Linked DNA regions of Homo sapiens: regions 1 and 3 are each linked to region 2. The links are contacts of gene promoters, found by promoter capture Hi-C in human tissues and cell types (Jung and others, 2019). All regions are on one chromosome and are shown on one strand. Each heading gives the region's core, a stretch centred on a gene start or on the middle of the fragment in contact. The rest is flanking DNA. Distances are from core to core; before and after follow the strand shown. Region 1 overlaps PLS1 (plastin 1). Region 2 holds the start of PCOLCE2 (procollagen C-endopeptidase enhancer 2). Region 3 overlaps TRPC1 (transient receptor potential cation channel subfamily C member 1).

Evidence for each region. The method cuts DNA at HindIII sites, captures the fragments that hold promoters and counts their contacts. A contact is called where the count stands out against the background at its distance.
Region 1: a contact is called between a fragment that was not itself captured here and the fragment with the promoter of PCOLCE2 in region 2, in 1 of the 25 tissues and cell types used here (IMR-90 fibroblasts).
Region 3: a fragment that was not itself captured here is called in contact with the fragment with the promoter of PCOLCE2 in region 2 in 2 of the 25 tissues and cell types used here (H1 embryonic stem cells and neural progenitor cells).

Annotation. Positions count from the first base shown.
Region 1 is chr3:142,692,554-142,696,854 of GRCh38, forward strand. PLS1 (plastin 1) reads left to right here. Exons shown (of 16, transcript NM_001145319.2): 11 at 1,916-1,994. Among named protein-coding and RNA genes, the nearest start is that of TRPC1, 29 kb to the right of the region's middle. The HindIII fragment of the contact is 5,635 bases long and covers 1-4,301 here.
Region 2 is chr3:142,887,133-142,891,445 of GRCh38, forward strand. It overlaps PCOLCE2 (procollagen C-endopeptidase enhancer 2), which reads right to left and starts at 1,951. Exons shown (of 9, transcript NM_013363.4): 1 at 1,682-1,951; 2 at 537-645. The coding sequence starts at 1,764. LOC124909443 (a long non-coding RNA gene) reads left to right here and starts at 1,132. Exons shown (of 2, transcript XR_007096122.1): 1 at 1,132-1,327; 2 at 2,459-3,635. RefSeq lists a silencer at 1,894-1,943. The HindIII fragment of the contact is 12,495 bases long and covers 1-4,313 here.
Region 3 is chr3:142,741,316-142,745,618 of GRCh38, forward strand. TRPC1 (transient receptor potential cation channel subfamily C member 1) reads left to right here. Exons shown (of 13, transcript NM_001251845.2): 3 at 2,170-2,271. Among named protein-coding and RNA genes, the nearest start is that of TRPC1, 19 kb to the left of the region's middle. The HindIII fragment of the contact is 7,023 bases long and covers 1-4,303 here.

The sequences.
Region 1 (4,301 bases), core at 270-2,769, 200 kb before region 2:
ATTTATAAAATCTATTTTACTTTCCAGGTATCAAAAATTAAAATAATTATATAATCAGTTGAGAACAATAGGAAGAAATATGAACCCCCGAAGATAGTTTCAGAACTCAATCAAAATGCAAGTTTAGTTATTTTAAAATATTATTCACTGCATCATTAGGTTCAACAGAATTTGGATATTTTAATTAAAAATTAAACCATTATGGCACTATTAATCTTCATAATTTTAAGACATTTAGATTTTCCTAGATGGAAATAATGTAAAACTTCTGTAACTATTAGAAACATATATATATATATCTTTATGATAGATAGAGAAACAACTGAGAGGTAAATCCAAATCAAAGGCATCAAGTTATTGATCATAGTATGTTTATATTTATGTCACTTTGGGGATAGTTCATAGATTTAATTTGTACCTGTTTAATAATTCCTACAAATAAGGCTGGCATGGATTCTAGAAATATTTAGTTTAGCTTGGTTATTCTTAAAAAAAGATTCTCATGTAGACTGTTTATTATAAAGTGGTGGTAGCAGATACAACAGACTGATCAGTTACCTTTTATGCAGACCAGAGGGAACAAAATTTAAGCAAGAAATTATAGGGCTACATAATAGAGCAATAATTAAAGCAGATTCTGGGAAAGCTGTTAGATAATGGCATTGAAATCACATGAAACTACAGTGGGTAGATGATTTCCTGAACAGTTGGCACAAATAACAGAATCCTTTAGATCTGACAAGGCTTGCGTTCCTATCATGGGTGTGCAGGTTTATACTGTCTTTGGCACTCAATGTGAAGATGACTGTTGCAATCGCTCTATACGAACGAGCCCCTGGAACGCAGATGATTATAGATTTATGTGCCAAATTGTCCTGTGAGTCTCACATGGGCCAAAATCTAGAGAGTGACTTGAACTTGCCTATAACTTAGAAGTGATGACAGGTGTAAATGTTTCAGTTTTTCAGGAGTCTGCTGATAAGATGTAAACTAGGCCATTCCACTGTCTAATAACTTTGCCGAAGAACAAATAATCATGATAGTTACTTAGAACTATTTGCAGTCAGGAGATGACTAGAAGGCAGACAGTGGCAGAGCCAGCCCACATCCCTGCTCACTTTGTGGTATACTATGACCCGCATTTTCCTTATAGATGATGTAAGCACTGTTACAAAGGGAATGCTCAGGGAGGTATGGTTAAATAACAGCACCTGAAGGAGTTATCTCCTTGAGGGGATCTTTGAGGTCCAGGAACTTACTATGATGAAATCTGTCTTTCTCTTATCAACCTGTATTGGGTCTGTGTTCCTTATGTATTTTCAGTAATGATAATCTAAACTAACTCAGGAAGCCTGTAAAATAGTTATATTCCCCTCATTGTGTGTTTTTATATTTACCTGTAATCCCCTCTGCCCTTCATTGTGTGGTGTAAAGTGTAGGTCTGTGTGCTGAGAAACTTTCCTATGTAAAACCATAATTTGTACAAATTTAGAAACACTGCACCGAGAAAGGTATAACTTTTCTATTTGTGTTTAATGTGCTAATGTTACCCTGACTGCGAAAACATTTTGTTTTTATTAATGTTTAGTGAATCCCTTTTGCATCTAATCATAATTATAGACCACAGAAGTGTATCTGTTATTTCTAGGTAGAGAAACCCATGGCTCAGTACTAGTTCACAGACATCAAAGGGAATCTAGAAGGAGAGATTTAGAGCAAATGGAGGCTTCCTAGATAGTAGGAAAGAAGGGACTTTGGCATTAAGAGACTTTTTTTCTCCCTTTAAAGAAACTGTAGTATCTAAAGAACCATGGCAAGGTAGGTTTGACCAGTTTGTACCTGCTAGAATGGTTTAACATATAGTTCCTGGTTCCTTTTGTCCTGAGTCATCAGTGTGAGCTTGTGTCTACTCTAGGAGAGAGCAAGGAAGAGAGAACATTTCGGAACTGGATGAATTCCTTGGGAGTCAACCCATACATTAATCATTTGTACAGGTAAATATTTTATTGTGCTTCAGCTTTACTGTCAGGGTCCAACTTTTCAAGTTTCAAACTGTAGGCATGTTTAAATGGAACATTTTCTCAAGTTGCAAGAATTTTAGCCAATTTTTAGAGTTTCAGGATGCTGGGAATTGGCAATACAATGGATTTTAAAAGAAAGCTACTATTCAAAAAAGGAATAATAGTTATGTTTTTGATGATATACGTAAATCAGTAAAGATAATCCTTTTTTATAGTTATTGATTGTAAAAATAATTTCAACTTTAACAGATTAGAGTAACAGTAATAACTGATAAATTGTTGTTATATCAGTATTTTTATTATGTCATTTTTCATTTATTTTTGCCAAAACCTTAATTATTCCATAATTTTTGTGTATATTTTTTTCTAATTTGTAAAAGTAACTTGTTTTCCTTGAATAATTGTTATAGCTTATCTCATTCTTTCTTGTTTAAAAAATGATAACACATTATTGACATTAGTAGGGCTAAGAAAATATTTTACTAAATCAACTCCTGGGCTAACGATGCATCTTTCTAAGTGTGGATGAGAGGAAACCATTCTTCTCTCTTTATTATACAATCTACCAGCCTGCCTTGATAAAGTGCAAAATAAGCCAACTTCAGCTAGTTGTATTTTTTTTTAGAAAAAAGTTCTAATTAGCTAAATGTATTAATAATTTATATACCCAAGAAACTCCTTAAACAAGATTATGATTAACTCCTTAAAGAAGATTAATGTCACAACAGGCCAAGTTCACTGGTTCACTGAGGATTTATGATGTTGTAATTTCTGCTCCTTGGTGTTTATTCACAATGTTCTTTAAAATTGAAAACCAGTGTTACCTTATTATGGTAACTGGCTTTGATGTGATAGACCCATATTTGTAAAGCTCTTAAAGAGTGTGTAAATTTCAGCTGGATGAGGAGATATACGTCAATTAGACCAGAGCTCCTGTTACAGTAGCAGGGAAGTTAAAACACAAATATTGAAGGTGAGGAGGGATTCACTTTTTATGGACTGATTTGAAAGAATGTCTATAATATATAGTCAAGAAAAAAGAATAACAGGTCTAGTATGATCCCATTTTGTTTACAATTTGAGTGTGTGGATATTTGTATTCGAATTTTAAAAGAAAATCTAGAGAGGTACATAGCAAACTCTATGTAGCCTGGGTAGTAGGAGTAGAGAATAGTAAGGAGACTTACTTATTTATTTATTTATTTATTTATTTATTTATTTATTTATTTATTTATTTGAGATGGAGTTTCACTCTTGTTGCCCAGGCTGGAGTGCAATGGTGTGATCTCGGCTCACCGCAACCTCTGCCTCCCTGATTCAAGTGATTCTCCTGCCTCAGCCTCCCAAGTAGCTGGGATTACAGGCATGTGCCACCACGCCCAGCTAATTTTGTATTTTTAGTAGAGATGGGGTTTCTCCATGTTGGTCAGGCTGGACGCGAACTCCTGACCTCAGGTGATCTGCCTGCCTCGGCCTCCCAAAGTGCTGGGATTACAGGCGTGGGCCACCGTGCCCAAGACTTTTACTTTTAATCTTAGTAACTTAAACATGATTGCATTTTTTTGGACCATGAGCATGTACTTTTCTATAATTAAAGAGTAAGCTTAAAAATAGCAGATTAAATCGATTTGTTGATACTCATGTAATTATTTCATAAATGTCAGGAACACTAGAGTTCTATCACTGACAGTGGAGAAAAGAATTGACCAAACCTTTTAGCTAAAGATATCTGAAGAATATCTTTATTCAAGAAATACCAGCATAGGGCTTCTGAGCATATAGTATTTTTTCTTGCAAAAAGAACTGTTACTTTCAGAAAATTCTTAAAAGTAACATAATCTTGGAGAACCGTCAGATGTAGAAGAACAATAGGTGGACATCTAGTTGACACTGGAACCATGTGTCCATAGAATTGTGTCTGCATCATATTCCTAAACCCACCCCCAAGAATTTTTAGGTTCCTGCCTATAGTATAGCCAGCCCATACCAAAACAGCTAGATTTTCACTGAAAATTCTCTTCTCTAAAATGTTATATATTTCAAGAACTATTAGTCCTAGAGTTTTTCTATGACCAGTTCGTTCTAGAACTCATCTTGAAGTCTCTGGAAATCATTTAAACTCTCTGGACCTCAGTTCTATTTGCAAAATAATAATAATAATAATAATAATAATAATAATAATAATACCATACTAGACAGGAATGAGAATGAATTCATTTAAAGTAAAAAAGAAAAATACATGAAACATAAGATTCCAGAACCTATAGAAATACTTCAGTG
Region 2 (4,313 bases), core at 701-3,200:
CCTTGGCTGCTATTTAGATTCCCACCCCCCCATTCTCTATTCTTAGACTGCCTTTAGAGGTGGTTTCAACCCAGGAACATTAAGTGGGCTTTTTTTATTTTTTTTCTTTTTCCTTTCCTAATGAGCATAGAGTAGTCAAAGCACTATCTTTGATCTTCCATTTCCCACTGGGAATTTATGAAGGCACGAGCAACAAAAAACTTATGAAGGTCATTACAACAGGCCTTTGACTGAAAACAGCTTTAATTATGAATCTATAAAACTCAACTGAGTCACACTGGGCTTTCAGAAACACATCTGCTCTGAGAATTTATTCCTTCAAGCATTATCTTGTGCCCTTTGTAATCACTAATGCAGGACACGACTAGATCTATTATATTAATAAAAATCTTCCCAATAGTTGGGGTAAATCCAACATTTCACTATTTCAGGCATTTGCCTCTTACTCAAATCCTAACACCAGAGGAAAAAGGCAGCAGCCTCACACTGTTGCCAACACCCACTTCCAGGAGAATACCTTTTTAAAAAATGCTTACTGTGATTTTCCAAGTACATTTGCTATTTGGAGGGTACACTCCAGGAAAACCTTCACTGCCAATAAATCCAGACTCTCCAGTAAGAATGCCACCACATGTGAAAACAGGTCTGGGAACATAAAAGAAGAAAAGATAATGTAATTTGAAACATGGTCTAACAATCTGATGTTACCTTCAGAAAGGTGTAGCCTATTAATATAAATAAAAGTTAATGTTGATTAATCAATGCTTGCACCATATAAGGGATCTGAAAATTTGCTAGCTCCTAGAATATTTAAATTATAGCCTGACAAAGCATTCAGTCCAGCGCCATCTGTCTCCATCATAATAACACAAGATTATATATATGTATAATCAAGTCCTCGGCATTGTGGCAAAGTCTTGTAGGAAAATGGTAAATACATCAATTTAACTGGGGGAGTGGGAGAGAAGGTAAGAGCCAGGCTGAATGAGAAGCATGGTTTTAAAGAAAGACAGGCAAGCAATTGGTTAATATAAAAAAAGTTTGTCGTTCCCATATTTGGAGAGATGCCCAGTTCTCCTCCCCCTTTCTGAAAATCACTCGCCATTGGCAGAGCTTCCCATCGAAAGGGAGGCTGATGTTGATGGAGGCTGAAGAGGTGATGCCAAAGTTGGCCACCGGGCAGGTCCCACAGCCCAGCTCCTGGGGCCTTCCAGAGGTTGGCGAAGAGTTAACTTTCCGGAGCGGCTCCCTAGGCGCCGCGCCGCTAGGGTTGTTCCCTAGTTTACGTCTCTGGGCAAAGCCTCTCGGGGAAGGAAAAAAAACAGCGGTAAACCAAAATCCACATATTTGGGCCCCAGTGCTTCCCTCTGGCCCCATAGACACGAGGAGAGGGGAGACACAAGTCAGATTAAGCCCCGCCACGTGGTGGCCAAGCCAGCTGCAGGGCCATCCGGCAGGCCGGGCTGGGGACCCAGGAGGGAGCCCCGCGAGCAAGGATGGGTCCCGAAGTCCCGGGCTTAGCCTACCCGAGGGTGGCGGACGCCTGCACCGCGCGGGAGCGCAGGGTCGAGCGCTGGGTCACCCAGGCGCGCCGAAGCGGGTTGAGTAAAGCAGCAGGCGAGGCTGCAGGGGTGGAGGAAGGGAAAGGAGAGAAAGGGAGCCCGGGCAGGGGTCGCGTTACCTCTCTGGGGACTGCTGCCGCGAGAGCTGGGTGGCGGCAGCCAGCAGCAGGCAGAGTGGCGCCCAGGCGTTCGCGCCCCTCATGGCAGCGTAGACGCTCGGGGTTTGCACCCCACGGCGCGCGCGCCGGCACACACGCCCCTCCGCACCCACCGCGCTCACACCGCCGCTCACACTGGCAGCAGCGCTGGCTCACACCGGCGCTCGGCTGCCCGCGCGCTCCCTCTCACGCGCGCACCGCCGCGGGGCGGCCCAGGTAGCCGGGGGATACGCGGCCGGCAGGGCGGAGGCACTTTTAAAGGCGATTATGGTGCCGTCTGACTCGACGCTTAGTTTCCCCTGAGGAGCTGCTCTGGCAGCCACAGGCCACTGCTGAATATCCCGTTTGTTCTCCGGCGGCAGGAGGGGCGGCTCCGAGGCCAGAGCCGCCCCCTCTCGTGGGGCGGGCGAACGTCTCCTCCCGGCACCCCGGGACCGACGGGTCCTCTCTCGTCCAGCCCTCAGGGACCCCGGGGAGAAGAGGAACCCCTTGCGGAGTGGCACCCCAGCGGCCCGGGCCCCGACGCCCAGAGACGATTCTCAGGGAGGGCTTCTGGTTTTGCTTTGGGGAATGTTTTTCCCAGTTGCTTTTAAATAAAAAGTAATAGCGCTTGCTGGCTGCTGGAAAGCCTGGGGGTCCTTCTTTGTCTCCTTCAAAACCCAGATCCAAGGAAAGAAAGGGAAAAGGGATTTTATTGTATTTTAACTTCTGTGCTTATTCTCCTCTCTCTCTCTCTAGATACTTTTCTTTTTTTTACTGGTATGACAATGACAAGGAAGACAGTCTCTGTGCCGGGATTTAAACACGGGTTTTCAGGCGAGCGATTTCTGTGTGAACTGTCATTAAATGTCAGATAATGAAGACGGAACCAAATCAGCAAATCTCACCATCCCATGTCATGTTCTGAAAATGGTGTTTCTCTGCTTGCATCTCTCTGTTCTTAGACCTTTCCAACAGCATCTTTCTGTGGTATTAACGGGTTAAAATTTACGGAGAATTCGTTTTTCTTAGACGAACAATTCTAGCCTTGTGGAATCAATACTCTCTTTTACTTAATTACAGAAATATAATTTTAAACATTTATTTTGTTAAGAGCTTCCCAATAACCAGGGATTAATAAAAGAATGACAGGAACAGACTAGATTCATAGAGATTTTTAATAATCACCAGCTATGGGAGATACAGCTTAACTTTGATGCCTCACGTTGTTCCTTCTAAATTGTTTTCACCTTTCTAAGCAAGAAAATTAAGTATTAAAGTAGTTCTTATCGAGACTTTATTTCTAATAATGAGCTGTTAAGAATCTAAACACGGGTGGGCGCGATGGCCCACGCCTGTAATCCCAGCACTTTTGGAGGCCGAGGCGGGCGGATCACGAGGTCAGGAGTTCGAAACCAGTCTGGCCAAGATGGTGAAACCCCGCCTCGACTAAAAATACAAAAAATTAGCCAGGTGTTGCGGTGTGCGTCTGTAATCCCGGGTACTCGGGAAGCTGAGGCAGAAGTATCGCGTGAACCCGGGAGGCGGAGGTTGCAGTGAGCCGAGATCACGCCATTGCACTCCAGCCCCGGGCGACAGAGTGAGACTCCATCTCAAAAAAGAAAAAAAAAAAAAAAAGAACCTAAACACTCCTGGCAAGGAAGTAAGTAAAACTGGCTACAGGAAATATTCTGACTTTTCATAGTGAGTGCACCCTGAAGCCTATACTAGGAACCAGAATATACGGACAGGACTTAGATTATCTTACCATTTTTTTAAAAAGTGAAGGCAAAAACATCATAAAGTACAACTTTCAAAACTTCTCTACAGGCACCACACCCTTTATGACATTAAAAAAAAGGGTGACAGAATTTGGCAAACTGCTTTATATCCTGAAACACTCTCAACCCAATAAAAATGTCTTTAAAACAGGGAAGAGGAGAATAAATGGTTGTTGATTTTGCACGCATTTCAAGAATATGCTATCTAATAGCATAAGTGTTTTTAGATAATTGTTTATTTGAAAGTCATAGTTTTAAATTATAAAGGGAAATATTGCTCAATTCACTTTCTGGTAATGATTTGCAGTCCTCGTAAACCAGAAAATACTTCATTCAGGACTAAGCTAAGTTTTCAAAATTTAAAATAAATAACAAAGTATTAAATGTGCCTAAATAGGAAACTATTTGAACTAAAATACACAGCCATTTCTTAATTTATAGATTGATGACTGTGTTCATATGCTCACTAAAGAGTTAGGATTTTAACACCAATCATTCTGTTGTTGACACTCATAAGACATTGATTTTACCATGTGATTTTAGAATTTACTAAAACCCATATTATTGGCTCTTAAAAACACATATTTGACTTGGAACTACAGTTCTGACCAAAATTATAAACCTTAAATGTCCTGAGAAGTTGATGTGTTAAAATTGAGAGACTTTTATTAGTTTGTTCTCACGCCGCTATGAAGAAATACCCGAGACTGGGTAATTTATAAAGAAAAGAAGTTTAATTGACTCACAGTTTCACATGGCTGGGGAGTCCTCAGGAAACTTATAATCATGGCAGAAGGCACCTCCTCACAGGGTGATAGGAGAAGGGGAAAAGC
Region 3 (4,303 bases), core at 77-2,576, 150 kb before region 2:
AATATTTTTATAGCTGAAGCTTATCCTTTTAAGCATTGAAAGATTTAATGTAAATCTTTATTCCTTACTAAGTAATGTATCTGAATATAATTTAACTTTACCATCCTTAGTTGGAATAATTGAGAATGTAATTATTTTACTTTGCTTCATATGGTCTGAAACTATTAACATGTTTGTCCTTACATTAAGTGGCTTTAGACTGTTGTGCATTGATAGTGATTTTGCTGTACTGGTATTTAATCTTTTCAGTAGTCAACTTTTAGTAATTCTTTCTTCCTTTCCCTCTACGCTGTTGGTTTTAATCTTGCTATTCTTTTATTCAGTAAAGATCTGAAGGATACTTGGGAAAGCCAGATATTCATCATTTATGGACAATTCTAAATCAGAATGCTTGGGTCTGTTTCTTTTGGGAAATAATACCCATGGAGTTTCTTTGTGACAGCTCAATATGTTGCTGTTTTTAAATCCATGGCTATTTTTCAGATTGTTGAAGTTCCCTGGTGTTTGACTTTGAAAGTAATGACATTACTATAGTTAGCTTTATTGGTTAAAATTAAAAATCATAGGCTGGGCGCAGTGGCTCACGCCTGTAATCCCAGCACTTTGAGAGGCCGAGGTGGGTGGATCTCTTGAGGTTGGGAGTTAGAGACCAGCCCAGCCAACAGGGTGAAACCCTGTCTTTACTAAAAATACAAAAATTAGCCGGGTATGGTGGCATGCACCTGTAGTCCCAGCTACTCGGGAGGCTGAGGCAGGAGAATCCCTTGAACCTGGGAGGCGGAGGTTGCAGTGAGCCAAGATTGTGCCACTGCACTCCAGCCTGGGTGACAGAGCAAGACTCTGTCTCAAAAAAAAAAAAAATTAAAAATCATAAATGAAATATTTAATAGTAATGGATATAGCATTCTTTTTGTTCATTTCCTTCAACTGATTAAATATGCTAAAATCTGAAGAGAAATGTTTGCAAAGCAGAGTAATAATGCTAGGACTTTAAAGCATAGGCCACAGCTCAATGAACCCTGAAAGTTTTAAGAGATAGTGCAATGGGTTAAATTTCCCATCTGGGTGGGAAGTTTTTCTGTGGGAAAACATAGGTGATTCCTAAGGGTTGAGTGAGGACTCCAACCCTTTTTTTTGAGGTGCATAGTCCTATTTTTAGATATTCAGGTAAAGTCTGCCACTTTTAGTTCTATTTTTTACATCCAGATAAAGTGAATATAAACTTTACTCTTTTCAGCTACAAAGAATATTAAAGATCGATATAGTTTTGTTTCCAAGAGCAAGAACATTGATTTAAATAGTTATTAATGATTATAGCAGTTAAAATGTACAGATTGAAAATAATTAGGGCATTTTCTTAGATTAAATCATTATTTATCCCCATGTTTTCCTTCTTCCTTTATATTTTTCCCTAAAAATCCAAAAACCTGATGTTATAGTTGCCAGTAGGACTATAGGCTTTGTTACAGAGTTGAAAAGTCCCCATTTCCTCAGAGTCTCCTTACTTTTTCCTCTTTCGGATCTTCACAGTGAGCTATAGACTGGGAGCAGAATGATAAAGTCACTTCTCCCTCCAGTCTCCATGAACTTTGGTAGCCTAACTATTTGTGGCTTATACTTGATAAAATTGCTCATAAATGTCAAATTTGTAGCATTTTAGTCAGCCATGTGTTTTAAAAATGAGAACAGAAGGCTCTCACCTTTAGATATTCTCCCTATATTCCTGTTTGCATTGATGATAATCATTTTCATTAGACTGAAAAAAATCCTTTACCTGTAGTAATAGTTCTTGACAGTTTCTTTTATAGATTTGGATTGTTAAGATTCTTTTGGTCCACAGTTCAAGAGTAAGGATCTTGAAAAAAAATTTTCAACTTTAAATCCTGCATGGATCAGCACTGTTACTCTAATAATCCCTTCAATGAGACATTCATTATTTTACCAACTCATGCATTGAAACCAGGACAGAAACGTGTGTATTGTGGTACACAGAAGTACTCCTAAGGCAAGCAAATGTACTATTTGTACAGTCAAAATTTTTGAAAAATTTTGTATTACTGTATATAATACAGTTTAAATTTTTAAAAAGTTTTATTTATGAATTAGTAAAAAGAAGTAGTTTACCTTTTTATCTTCCATTTTCATTTTTAACTTTTTTTTTTTTTGAAGTCTGCAGATGCACTTTTGGTGGCAATCGACTCTGAAGTAGTGGGAGCTGTTGATATACTACTTAATCATCGACCAAAACGATCATCAAGACCAACTATAGTAGTTAGTACTCTTAAATATTTATTAATTTGGATTTTTAAACCAAAATAGATCTCTTGCCCCATTGCCATTTTTTCCTTCCCTCAAATTTATTTTGTTTTTTCAAAAAATAGATATTTTTTCTCACTCTGTAAAATATTAAAAGTGGACACTTGCAGGAATAATTAGTATTTCTTTCAGGAAAACTTTTTAAATTTAGTTGATATTTCCATAATTTTGTCACTGTGGACCAGTATTTACCATTTGAAATATTCTGCAGGTAATGTTGAAAATATAGATTAGTTTGCAGATAGATAAGAATTAAATGTAAACAATGAAACCAACAAACTGGAAGAAAATGTAGGTGAATGTTTAACTGATCGTGAGTAGAAAGACTTTATGTGCATAAAAGCAATGGACAGAAATCACAGTGGCACAGTTTTTGCTGTTAAAAAAGTTAAATTTTTGGAATCCAGACATCAGACAAAATTTAGAAAGCAGATGAATAACTGGCAAAAGATATTTGCAGCATATATCATAAATTAATAATCTTAATATTGGACAAATTGGTGAAAAACATATTAGAAAAGGACATAGAAATAGCAGAAAATACAAAATGTTAAATCTTAATGATAATCAAATACAGTAAGATACTAATTTTAAACTTACCAAATTTACTTATTAAAGTTGAAAATTTAAAAAAAATCATTGATAGCAAGGGAGTATTACAGTCTCATGCTACTAGTGAGGCAGGTATTTTGGAAAGTGTTTTGGCAGGATCTGTCATAAGAAAGGTGTTCATATGCTTTAACTTAGTGCTTTCTCCTCTGGGAACTTATCAAGGAAATGGTCAGAAATGTGGACAAAAATGTTGGTTGTGATCTTATTTGTAGTAATTTTTAAAAGCCCATGTGACATAATCTAAACATTCCAAAATAGAAGATAGGAAATATAAATGATTACATATATGTACAATGGAATATTATGCAGTCATTAAAACAGTACTTTTAAAAGAATAGTTAGGAACATGGAAAAATATAACGTAGTAAGTGGAATACTTACTATGGTTAAAATACTTACCACGGTTAAAAATATGCGTAGAAAAGGGACTGTGTGGAAATGCAACAAAATGTTACCTAACAATCATCATCTCTCATTGACTAACCAAATTATGGATTTTTTTGTACTCTTTTTATTTTTCTTTATTGCTTTTGTAATTAGGAGGATAGTCACTACTAAATAAATGCTAATTTTATTGTTTTTTAATCAAATTTTAAACATGATAACATTCATTATTGGTGACGATACCGTGAAACAAGCAGTTTAAATAACTGCTGGCAATATAGGCTGGCTATAAGCAGAAGAAAAATACTGTTTTAAGAGAGAATTATAAATTGGTTGTTGACTCTCTGCCATGTTTGAGAAATGTGAGAGGCTCTGCTAAATTGCATACTTTGTTATATAGTAACTGAAAAATCTTACTCATTCAGACTATTACAAAAGTGTGACTTTCTCCAGAGGATAGTACCATCTAGTTTAAGTGGTGGTAAGAAATCAACAGGAATAAGGAACAAAAGGCTAAGAATATAGTCCCTATCCAAAGCATCAGAAATATCTAAAATACCATTCAATTTTCTGCCACTTATCTTGCAGTTATTATTATATTTTGGCACACCTGTCCCATCTTCTAGCCTTTTAGTCCATTTCCTTTCCTGGGGGAAGGGTGGGGTGTAGTGTGCTTGAGTACTGGAACCATTGACTGGTTTTATTCATCACCATTATCACTAACGATTAAATCTTAGTGTTGGCAGCCCTCACCTACTTAGTAAAATAACCTTTGGGAGGCCGAGGCGGGTGGAACATCTGAGGTTGGGAGTTCAAGACTAGCCTGACCAATATGGAGAAACCCCATCTCTACTAAAAATAGAAAAATTAGCCGGGCGTGGTGCCGTGCACCTGTCATCCCAGTTACTTGGGAGGCTGAGGCAGGAGAATTGCTTGAGCCTTGGAGGTGGAGGTTGCAGTGAGCTGAGATCGAGCCGCTGCACTCCAGCCT